2 separate regions of the Homo sapiens genome follow, and region 1 is linked to region 2. The links are contacts of gene promoters, found by promoter capture Hi-C in human tissues and cell types (Jung and others, 2019). All regions are on one chromosome and are shown on one strand. Each heading gives the region's core, a stretch centred on a gene start or on the middle of the fragment in contact. The rest is flanking DNA. Distances are from core to core; before and after follow the strand shown.

Region 1 (2,919 bases), core at 83-2,582, 38 kb before region 2:
CTGGGATAACAGGTGTGGGCCACCACGCCTGGCCTGATCTCAGTTTTAAAGCATGGGTTGGCATCTGAAGGCACACAAGAGATGGAAGGTCATTCCAGGTGGGAGAATCAGCTGAAGCAAAGGCTCAGAGGCCTGAAAGAATTTGGCATTTTAGGGGAATGGCCAGAGGTTTGCTGGGCCTGGACAAGGGGTTTTAATGGGCAGGGACATAAGGAGACTAGAATTGTGAAGGGCATGAAATTCTGGACTGAAGAGTTCAGATTTTATTCTCTATCTGAATGCCATCCCAGAATCAGGGGTGATGAGCTTGGCTCAGTGGCTTAGAAAGCTTGCTGTGGAGGCTGGCTTGGAGGAAAGCCAGGAGAGGATGGGGTTTGGTCCAGGTCTGAAATTACAGGGCTGAGCTAAGGCATGGGATACAGGAAGGGCAGAGAGAGATCTGGAGATGGCCAGAGGTGGGGGCTGGGGGAGAAACCAAGATGGCCCTTAGAACTTCTGAGGGCCTAGAACACAGGCCGTCTTTCCTAGCCTCCATCCCCACTGCCGCCACATTCCCTTCCCCTTCCCATGGCTCTGGCTTTGACTAGGAAGGAGAGACCAGCTGGTCCAATGTGAAGGGGCCTGGGGAGTTGGGGGAAGGTGACACCCTGGAAGTTTCTCTCAGGCTGGAAGACCATCTGTTTCCGGGCCCGGGTCAGCATGAGAGAGGCCCTGGCCCCTGGCCAGCATCCATCACTACCTGACGGGCCACCTGCCCACCTCCCTGCCCACTCCTGCCCCCTCCTCTGCCAGCTCCTAGCTAACCACAGACAAAGGGCTCACACAGCCCAGGGCCACAGTGGGCAGGAGCAGGGATGGAGGAAGAGAAGAGAGGAGGGCTCTGAGTACCAGGAATGTGGGGTCAGTGGGGAGTGTGGAAAGACCACACTGTGGTCTGGGGATAAAAGGCCTGGGTTCTGCCTCGCTCTGCCCCTTTTGGCAACAGGAGCAAAACTGTGGCTGTTCCTTCCAGCCAGCACGAAAAGCTCTCTGCCAAGGGCCTGTGAGATTTTCATGGGCCTAGGGAAATGTTTGAAGCCTGAAAAAAAAAAATTGGCTCCAAAACACAGGGAAAAACTACAGAATCAAAATTAATAAATGTTTAATTAAATGTGTGCAAAACAGAACATGATGTCAGCCAGTCAACTACAATTTGGCTTTTATCTAGTCATATATAATTTACATGGGATGTTTGATGTAGCTGCATTTTAATATGCTTGATAGATGTGGTGCCCACAAAGGTCTTAAAACAGTCCTGCCCAGGACATGCAACCTAATTTCCCTGGCCCTCAGTTTCCCTTCTCTAAAATGGGAATGGCACTTGCCATTCTGCTTACACATAGCCACTGGGGTAAGGATGAGGGAGGAAAGGTAGCAATGGCTGGCATGTGGGTTTGATTCCCAGCCCTGTCCCAGACCTGCTGTGTGACCTTGGGTAGTCTCTCCACTTCTCTGAGCTTTATTTTCCTCCTTGTTGTGAGCATTAAATGAGTGTGATGGGGCAGGGTGCAGTGGCTCACACCTGTAATCCCAACACTTTGGGAGGCCGAGGTAGGTGGATCTCTTGAACCGGGGAGTTTGAGACCAGTCTGGGCAACACAGTGAGTCCCTGTTTCCACACACACACACACACACACACACACACACACACGCAATGAATTTAAAAATAGTTTATAAACTATAAAGGGTGTCCATAGAGGGAGTAGCATACACTGGGCAGGGGCCGCTGGCTCCTCCTCACCACCAGGCAACCTCTCTTGAAACCTCCTCTAGGAAGTCCACCCTATCCCACATCCCACTCTATTTGAAATGAAGTTGAAAGAAGCTGATCTTCACCCAAGGGAAGAACACCACACCTCAGGGAAGGGAATCCAGATTGGGGGTGGTGTACATCTGATCTTCTCCAAAATTATCCCCAGGCCAGGTGTGGCGGCTCATGCCTGGAATCCCAACATTTTGGGAGGCCAAGGCGGGAGGATCACTTGAGCCCAGGAGTTCAAGACCAGCCTGGGCATCACAGAGAAACCCCATCTCTACAAAACATTTAAAAATTGGCCGATGTGGTGGCGTGTGCCTGTAGTCCCAGCTACTCAGGAGGCTGAGGTGGGAAGATCACTTGAGTCCAGGAGTTCGAGGCTGCAGTCAGCCATGACTGCACCACTGCACTCCAGCCTGGGTGACAGGGTGAGAGTCCATCACTAAAAAACAACAAAATCCCCAGTCTGTCCATGTCTCCTCTGCTACCACCTGTGCAGGCCACAGTCATCTTGCCTGGGTGACCACGTCAGCCTTCTGTGTGGCTGCCCGCATCCACTCCTGCCTCCCTACAGTCCATTCTCCACATGGCAACCAGCAGGATATTTTTAAAACCTGTCAGATCATGTCATTCCCCTTCTCAAAGCCTTCCAAGGGCCTCCCATCACACTTGGAATAAAACCCACGCTTCTCCCCTCGGCGTGCAGGCCCTAAACCATCTGGCCCTGCCTGTTTCTCTCACCTCATCTCAAACCACTGTCCCACTTGTTCCTGACACTCCAGATGCGCTGGGGGGGGGGTGTCCTAAAACTCAGCCAGACTTGTCCCTGGCTCAGGACGTCTGCACTTGCTCTGCCTGGAATACCCCTTTCCCAGATCCTCCCATGGCTGGCTCCTCATCAGCTCACACCTTCTCAGAGAGGCCTCCCAGGCCACCCTTGCCAACTCACTCTAGTCTACCACACCCCCTGTCTTATTTTCATCTTAACCTACACTATGAAATCACCGTTTATTTATTTATTTTCCATTCTCCCACTGTGAATCCATGAGGGCAGGGATCTCGTCTGTCTTGATCACCCCTGTGTCCCCAGCATCAGTGCCTGTAGAATAGGCACTGATGCATTA
Region 2 (3,061 bases), core at 71-2,570:
AGGCGAGACATCAGAGTGATAATATCGGTTCTGCTCTTTAGACTTTCAAAGTCCTTTCCCAGCGCCTTTTACAGCCATGTGGGCTCAATGCCTCCTTCCCTCTGACCTCCTGCCTGCTTCCCCCCCGCCCATTCTGTTCCACATACGCTGGCTGTTCCCTCTGCCTGGAACACTCTTCTCCTAGGCATCCACATGGCTCACCCCTCACCTTCTTTTCAAAGCCTTGCCTCTCTCTGAGGTTTGTTTTTTCCAGCTATCCAATGAGGAGTTTGGGCGTGAAGACCTCGTGGGAACCCTCTGGTTCTGATGGTAACCATTTTCCACCTGCCTGCCTTCTCTGGGAAGTCCTCCCAATCCTACCACCCACACCCACCTGCTTTTCTGAGCTAGCACTTCATTGCTTACTGCCCATAGTTTTCAAGTCCCTTCCTTATGTATAGGCCAGCTACTCTGGACATTGGGCCCAACACAGGGGCTCAAGTGAACTCTGGTTAAACGGAATTAAAAGTGATTACTGCTTCCTTTGTTTTTTGAGACAGAGTCTCGTTTTGTCACCCGGGCTGGAGTGCAGTGGTGCCATCATAGCTCAGGGCAGCCTCGACTCCCCAGATGCAGGTGCTCCTCCCGCCTCAGCCTCCTGAGTAGCTGGGACCAACGGGCGCGCCCCCCCTCACCCAGCTAATTTTTTTTTTTTGTATTTTTAGTAGAAACGGAGGTTTTACTGTGTTGCCCAAGCTGGTCTCGAACTCCTGGGCTCAAGTGATCCCCCCGCTTTGGCCTTCCAAAGTACTGGGATTACAGGCATGAGCCACTGCGCCCAGCTGATTCCTGCTTCCTTCCGATCCTGTGGAGAGACACTGAGGCGGATTTTTATTCACCCCCTTTTTATAAATTAGAAACTGAAAGTGTCAGAGATTAAACATAAGTCACACTGCCACATGGGCCTTCTTGGTGTTTCTTAGCCAGGGGAAGAATAATATTTCCCAGATCCTAATCACTACCTGCCACGGTATATAATTGTTTTGCCATTAATTGTCGGTGTTTCCCACTAGGATGAAGTTCCATGAGGGCAGGGATTTTGTTGTGTTCACTGCTGCATCCTAAGCACATAAAACTGCTTGGCACATAATAAGTGCTCAAGAAGCATGAACCGAGGGAGTAACGGGTCAGAGGCAGCCCGAGGACTGAGCTCTCTGAGCCTGCAGAGGGCGCTCCAGCCCCGCCCCCAAAGCTAGGCCCCGCCTCTCGCAGCCGGCTGGCGCACTAGTGTTAGAGCCTGCGCACCACCGTTCTTTTAACTGCGCAGGCGCGCCGGAAGCACCTAGAGAGCGGCGCGTGCGCAGCGGGAGTCGAAGCGGAGATCCCGGGGTCGCGCGAGAGCCGCAAGCGGAGTTGGTGGGCGCTATGCTATCACCCGAGGCAGAGCGAGTGCTGCGGTACCTTGTAGAAGTGGAGGAGCTCGCCGAGGAGGTGCTGGCGGACAAGCGGCAGGTGAGAGGCCCCTCCGCGGCGCTGGGGCCTGGCGGCCGGCGCCGTGGGAAAGCGCGCGGGGTCGCAGTGAGTTGACCTGGACAGGCGGTTAACGGCTCCGAGGCGACAGACCTGGGCCGATAAATATTCGGCCGCTACTAAGTGAGCGCCTGCGCTATGCTGGACATTCCTCTCTCTTCATCCTTTCTCTGCCCCTTGCCATGCTCTGTGGATCTCGACCCATCATGCTCTGGGCCGTTTCCCTGAGCACCTGTTTCAAAATGCACTTCCCGGCCCCATGGTTGATCTAGGGGCACCGCCCTGTAAAGGCCCTCAGGGGAGAGCTGGAACCGAAAAGAAGCCTGAGGGGGCCTTGTGACCGGGCAGGGGTGGGGACGTGGGGGAAGGTGGCGCCCTGTTTATGGGGTGTCTTGTTTTAAGTGCCAAGTTTTTGAGGGGAGTTCCTGGGGGAAGGAGGGTGACGTAATTGGATTTAGGTTTTAAAAGGATCCCCCCTGGCTGCTGTGTGGAATACAGAATATAGGTGGGCAAGGGCGGAGGCAGGGAGATGGGTGAGGGGCCATTGGTATGGTCCAGACCAGAGATGGATTTGGACTAGGTAGTGGTGGTGGAGAGAAGTGAAGGGGTCAGAAATGTATTTTGGAGACAGACTCAGTAGGCCGTGGTAGTGGAGCCGGGGGAGTCGTGACTCCCTCTCATCTCCAGTTAGAAGGGTCAGGTATTTACTGAGAAGGGGAAAACTTGGGCAAGATCCTGTCAAATTAAGTACTGGATCAGGGTGTGCTGGATGAGAATAAGAGCAGTTAAAGTTTATCAGCTACTTACTATGTGCCAGGTACTGTGTTAAGTCATTTAATTGCTGGCTCAATAACCTGTAAGGTAGGTACTGTCCGTAGCTCCATTTTGAGGAGGAGTAAATAGGAAGGTGAAATTACACAGCTTGAGGCAGATAGCAGGATTCGAACCTGGGTATTCCAAATCCAGAACCAGCACTCGTGCAGTATACTGTACTACTGCGTCACTTCCTTAGTAGCTATTGTGTTGTTACCACTGTCTCAGTGCCCCCAATCCTGCTGTTCCAATCTAGTATTGTTGGGTTTCTCATATTACTAGTTCAGAATCAGCTGGAGAAGTTTGTCCAAAAATAAACATTAGGCCTGCTTAATCACAGTGTGTAGGGGAAGGGTTTCCACTCCCCTGGTGATTCTGATATGCCCTAAAGTTCGAGTGGATAATGCAGAATTTCCCATTTAGTCAGCACATGTTTTCTCAGCATCTTTTCTGGGGAGAGGGCAGCTGCACAAAGCATTGTCTTTAAGACCAGGAAGCTGAGTGAGAGAAGAAATACATTCACACATCAATCCATTTTAGGCAGGACGTTGAATGTAATCAGGAATAATGCATTGCCTCTGCAACCCTTGTCTGTCAAGAGGTGACAGCTTGGGGCAAGAGATAGCTGAGTTCCCTCCTGTCCCTGTGGTTTTCAGATTGTGGACCTGGACACTAAAAGGAATCAGAATCGAGAGGGCCTGAGGGCCCTGCAGAAGGATCTCAGCCTCTCTGGTAAGTT

The links. Contacts are between HindIII fragments. The study calls those that stand out against the background at their distance.
Region 1: a fragment that was not itself captured here is called in contact with the fragment with the promoter of PDRG1 in region 2 in 2 of the 25 tissues and cell types used here (lymphoblastoid cells and mesenchymal stem cells).

What each region holds. Positions count from the first base shown.
Region 1 is chr20:31,988,951-31,991,869 of GRCh38, reverse strand. The region is part of intron 1 of XKR7 (XK related 7); the gene reads right to left. Among named protein-coding and RNA genes, the nearest start is that of CCM2L, 20 kb to the left of the region's middle. RefSeq lists an enhancer at 2,115-2,919. The HindIII fragment of the contact is 4,296 bases long and covers 1-2,919 here.
Region 2 is chr20:31,950,305-31,953,365 of GRCh38, reverse strand. It overlaps PDRG1 (p53 and DNA damage regulated 1), which reads left to right and starts at 1,320. Exons shown (of 5, transcript NM_030815.3): 1 at 1,320-1,491; 2 at 2,979-3,054. The coding sequence starts at 1,405. The HindIII fragment of the contact is 6,454 bases long and covers 1-3,061 here.